2 separate regions of the Homo sapiens genome follow, and region 1 is linked to region 2. The links are contacts of gene promoters, found by promoter capture Hi-C in human tissues and cell types (Jung and others, 2019). All regions are on one chromosome and are shown on one strand. The core of a region is centred on a gene start or on the middle of the fragment in contact, and the rest is flanking DNA. Distances in the headings are between cores, read along the strand shown.

Region 1 (2,832 bases), core at 256-2,755, 52 kb before region 2:
ATTCTTCCATGCTTTTCAGATTGGGTGCAGTCAATGAAGGTACAACCAGGAAAGTTAGAGTGCAATTTGGCCCACAATTGGTAACTAAATATGAAAATTGGAGTGAATCTAAATAATACAAGGAAACTGAGCTAGTGGGTGACCTGCTGGATTAGATAGTATTGGAATCATTTGGCTGATGATGCTAATCAGTTACCATTTTGCTTTTAAATGGAAGCCCCATAATCAAATAAGTTTAGTAAAATTCCATGTGTTTACAGATATCTAGTCAAAATTATTCTATATTTTCCTATTTAAGCATCCTAGTGGAAGTCATGTTTTGCCTTTCTAATTAAATATTTGCTTACATATGTGTGAAACAATGTCCCTGAATGAAGAAAGAAAACACACTATCATACTATTACTTCTTATTTTTATAGGCAATTGAGTTCTGGTTTTCTTTATCCCAAGGCCTCCATTTGCCAGAAAAATATATTTGTACTATTATGCATCTGTTACTTATATCAGTTGGATTGTCAAACTCTGAAACTCTTATTACCTATGTACAATAAGAATGAGTGTGTAAAGAACAACATTGGATTAGATGCAGAATTCTGCTTAAGCCATTTATCAGCAGCATTTTATCTTAGGCATGTTGCCTAACAATCTTTGGTTTCCTCACCTGAAAAATGAGATATACCAGCTGCCCACATTACAAGGTTGCTGAGAGAAGCAATCAGATATGTTAGGATGGCAGAACCACCAAGAGTGTAAAAGTACAGATTTGGAGTCCAAGGAACCTCAGTTGGAACTCTGTTGTTACCACTTACTCTGTAATCTTGGGTGAGTAACTTAACTTCTAACTCTTAGTTTCCTTATCTGCCAAATAGGGATCATGATAAGACATATCTCACACAATTACTGAGAGGATTAAATGACACCAAAAAGTACTGAGCACGTATGATAATGGCTAAAGGTGTTGAGCACTTCCTGTGTTCCAGCTACCTGATCACGTATACAAATGTGTTTTCTAGGCTGGAAAGCCATATAGAGGGGGAAGCCCAATTCATGTGCTTTTCCATTGCCAGCCTTTCTTCCCGTATGGCCTTACTTCTACAGCCCACAGACTTGCCATATGCAGAGATCTTAGCCAGGGTACTCACCTTGAGGGATAAGGAAGAGGCCAATTTATAGGATTTACTGCTCCAGAGAGGAAAGCTCCTGGGTGAGGCACTGTACCTGGAACAAGATCTCTACCCCAAGCATTGAATTTGGTTGGGTCTCAGAGGAAGCAGACCTGTTATCTTGCATTCTGCATGCATTTCTGGTGGACTTTATCACAAAGGTCTGGGACTCTGGGAAAAGGAAAGGACAGCCAGAAGGAATGAAGAAAAAAAGAAGCTTTCTCTCCCTCAAATCAGATTCCAGCTTTTGGTTGCCACTGCCTTCAACTAACAAAGAAATCACCTGTCATTTTATTGTTATAACTATTTTTATGATTGTCAGCATAATTGCCATTATCGTTAACACCTAAATGTATAGTGAATGCTTAGAATGGACTAAGTTGTTTACAGTGGACTAAGTTCATTGACTTCTTTCAACAATCTCAACAATCCTGTGAGGAAGATTTTTTTTTCTTTTTTTGTTTTGAGATAGGGTCTTGCTTTCACTCTGTCATCCAGGCTGGAGCCTGTCACTATGCAGTGACAGGATAACAGTTCACTGCAGCCTCACCTTCCAGGCCTCAAGTGATCCTCCTGCGTCAGCCTCCTTAGTCAGCCTCCTGAGTAACTGGGATCACAGGCTTGCCACAGCACCTGGCTAATTTTTTAATTTTTTGTAGAGACTGGGTCTTACTATGTTGTTCAGGCTGGTCTTGAACTCCTGGGCTCAAGCACTCCTCCTGCCTCCGCCTCCCAAAATGCTGAGATTACAGGTTTGAGCCACTGCAGAAGCCACTGACCTCCGGAAGATTCTATCATTATCCTTATTTAGAAATTTAGAAATTAATAAAGTGAGAATCAATCAGAGAGGATAAAATACTTGCCAAAGTAGCAAGTGGTATTGCTGAGACTCAAACTTGGAACTGTCTAGCTCTGAGCTCCTATTTCCAATTACTATGCTACTCTCCAATTAATTACTGACAACTAGAGTCCGAACTCAACAAAGCACTTGAGTTTAAAATGATGCATTACATTTGCTTATACACACACAGCACCCAAGCCAGTGAAAATCAGGAAACAGACAATTAGCAAATGCCACTTGAATATTTGTCAGCTCTCACCGAGATCTAGGAGAAATCTCTTTTCAAGATGATGAGAAAGATGCTATCCAAATTAATCCTTAGTTTAGTCATCCTAATTCTAATGACTTAGCAAACTAAGATTTTTAAACAATAGAAACATCTTTATACCCATGTTTTTAGGGAAAGCCATTGTCATTTGCACTTTATTTTAGAGCCGTTGGTTTCTCTGCTGCTCTAAAACTTAGATGGCCTCGGAGCTCCTCCGCCCTCATGCCCTCAAGACCTCAGAGGAGTGAGGATGGAGAAAAGGTTTAGGTTGGGTGCAGGGAGAACCTGTGTTAGTCAGGCAGCCTCACCTCTGTCCTGTTCCTCCCACCCCCAGGAAAGCTGCCCTCTCCTTCCCCCACCTCTAGACTGCCTTCCTTGAAGCAAGATAGCAGTACTTGGGCAGTTTACTCAGCACTTCCAGGGTCTTTCCAACAAAAATGAGTTTCTGCTCAACTTGTCCTATCTCTTTTGAAAACCAAAAAATAATGATTTGGGGGTGAAAGTCAATGTGCTGAAACACAAAAAAATCTCATGTTGTCAAACAGAAAGTAAACTTTAAC
Region 2 (2,700 bases), core at 68-2,567:
GGGTCTCTCTGCTTGTAGGTCCGGATGTGTTTCACCACGGTGGGGGTAGTGACCCGGGGCTTGCTGCCCCCGATGGCTCCTGGCAAGATCGAGCCCGTCTCGTTGTATCGCGCCAGGATCTTGCTGACGCAGCCGTGCGAGACCCGTAGCTGGCGGCTGATGTCACACGGTCGGATGCCCAGTTGGGCCAGTTCCACGATGCGAAGCCGGATGGCGTTGGGCAGCGGCCTCCCGTTCACGAACACTCCTCCCAGCTGGTTCACCTCCCCGAAGGCTGGCTCTGCAAAATGAACACACAGCGCGCAGGGACGCGCACCCGCTGCTTGGGACAGCTGCCTGCCACTGGGCCTCCCTACGCATCCGGGGACTGGGCGAACGCACCCGTCCCCTACTAACTACTGGGGCTGTCCCCAAACCATATGGTCCCTGAACATAGCCGAACGGCCCCAAACCGTCACTGTCCAATCGGACCCCCTCCCTCATTCCTGCCGTGCCGGAGGCCCCTACGGCCAAGTAAAGTGGTGAGATGCCGGGCCTCTCCGAGCGTTCAAAAGTCTCCCGAAGCAGGGGGAGAAATCGGTCTTGACGCCTGAACGTGCTCCTTCTCGCCTGCTCCTCACTAAAGTCCTTGAGCCGCTCCCTCTCTCCACCCATCCCATCCCCAGCGTTCCTTCTGGAGACCCGGCCAGTTAAACAAAGTCTAGGGGAAGCTAGAGGGTGTTTTATTTGTTGTTGTTTGTTTTCTTTTCTTTTCTTTTCCTGTTTTGTTTGCATGTGTGCGCGCGTGTGAAACAAAACTTGGTTTGCTACTCGGGCTGAGGGGCTCGCTGATGCCACAGCTCCCTTCTCTTAAAATCAGAAAATGGCATCAACAGCCACCCAGTAGCCAGCGTTCACATTGAACTGCTGTGCGCCGCTGACCCTTAGCGTGTTCCTACAACTTGTAGGAACACGAGCAAAGTCAATAGAGAATGTGAGCGCCTAGTGGCGCGCGCCCTCGCGCTCCCTCCCTCCCTCCCTCCCTTGCCCGCTCGCTCCCTCCCTCCCTTCCCGGCTCTGACAGAGTCCCCCGCCGCCACTCACCCATTGCTCCGAGCAGTACACCAACCCGGCCCCAGTTCCGCACTCCCAGACAGAAACTTTCCGCACCGCCTCAGTGGCCCGGCCTGTTGCTATCCCGGCCGACCGCCGGCGCCTCCGCTTCTTCCCAGGAGGAGGAGGCGAGAGGGCAAAAGGAAGAAGTAAAAGGAAGTCTGTGCCCCGATGAAAGAGGCTTGAGTTCTGCATTTCAATCTAAGCAGCAACGTGGGCTGGGCTGAGCAGGGCAGGGCGGCTCCGTCTATCACTCACTGGGGACACGCCCTAAAAGGGGCGGGTCCGAGGGCAAGCTGCATGGTGATTGGTGCGGGTCGGTGAGCGACAGCGCAGTCCAGGAAACTCCTTCCGCTGTCTCTTTCAGGCTAGCTCCCCACCTGGGTGACTAAATACAATGAAAATGGGTGTTTGACATCTTCCCAGAAGCGGCACAAAAAGACAGCAAAATCAGGCTGGTAAAATGCTGAATAAACAAATGAAAGCGTTTGGTCTGAATGTGAATGACTCGAAGGGAGAAGGGGCCCGAGGAGACCTCCTCCGGGGAACGATGGACATCTCAGAATTGAAGTTAAGGCTATAGGTGGGAGGCGGGCGCCACCGTGCACAGGGGTGAGGGAGTTGTCTTAGCAAAATCTGTCATGCGGGCCTCTGGGGACTGTCAGGAGAGGATCTGTGTCACCTGCCGATTCTACCTCACTTCAGTCCATGCCAGGTGGCGAGAGCGCAGGTGTGAGAAGATAGGCCGGCCAAAGAAACCAGGAGGTTGCGGGGAGCCCGAGCCACAGGTGGGGGCCACTGTTAAGGCCAGGGAGGTTCCTCCTACCGCCAGCTTCCTGCGGCGACCCCCCAGTCCAGGTGGACCGGCCAACCACTAGCCACACAGGCTCGAGGCACGGGCCACGCCGTGTGCGGGGAACTGAACCACAGGCGGCTAACGCTAGCGCACAGCCCCAAGTCGACCAATTGCCAGTGCGTGGGGCACTCACTACGGAGCCCAAGGCTCTGCCACATTCAGCCACTGTCCTGGGCCCCTGGCCCTCGGTGGCAGCGTTTGTGAGGGTTCTCCAAACCAGCGAGCCCTCTCGAAAGAGTTTTGTTTAAATATGAAAGAGACTTAGTCCCAAGACAGTGGACACCGACGCTGCACATGGATGTAATTCCCTCGTCTTCCATTAAGCTCCAGAGGCCCTGTCGTTCTGCCTACTTCTGAATTTTCACTTTTATTCACTGTAAGTCTAATCTAAAGTGTACCGTATGCTTTTTTGCAGCCAAAGTTATTAATATTTGCAGTTAGGGTTGTGGAGAATGTGAATCAAAATAATAAACAAGAAGAGAAATATTTTCGTGAATTTGGGAGTTTGTACTGCTTGGGGTCGTGAACTCTGTTACTGCTACTTGACAATCCAGAAGGCTCCTTGTGCACACAGGATTCAGGCTGCTTCCCCAACAGTCCCCAGGGATGTGTGTGGCTGCGGTCTACACCCAGAGAAGCTGACTGGTCCCAGATCTCAGGTCAGTAAGTTGCAAGAACCCAGGAAAAAACTATGATCAGCCATGCTTCTGCAAAGGAACAGATCTCCAGATTCCCACTTCTATGGTTAGGAT

The links. The method cuts DNA at HindIII sites, captures the fragments that hold promoters and counts their contacts. A contact is called where the count stands out against the background at its distance.
Region 1: a contact is called between a fragment that was not itself captured here and the fragment with the promoter of PAX9 in region 2, in 2 of the 25 tissues and cell types used here (mesendoderm cells and thymus).

What each region holds. Positions count from the first base shown.
Region 1 is chr14:36,712,807-36,715,638 of GRCh38, reverse strand. All of the region lies in intron 6 of SLC25A21 (solute carrier family 25 member 21), which reads left to right. Among named protein-coding and RNA genes, the nearest start is that of PAX9, 52 kb to the right of the region's middle. The HindIII fragment of the contact is 4,626 bases long and covers 1-2,832 here.
Region 2 is chr14:36,660,477-36,663,176 of GRCh38, reverse strand. PAX9 (paired box 9) reads right to left here and starts at 1,317. Exons shown (of 4, transcript NM_001372076.1): 1 at 1,084-1,317; 2 at 1-280. The coding sequence starts at 1,087. RefSeq lists enhancers at 1-337, 338-849, a cis regulatory region at 1,614-2,126 and a promoter at 1,386-2,583. The HindIII fragment of the contact is 9,466 bases long and covers 1,233-2,700 here.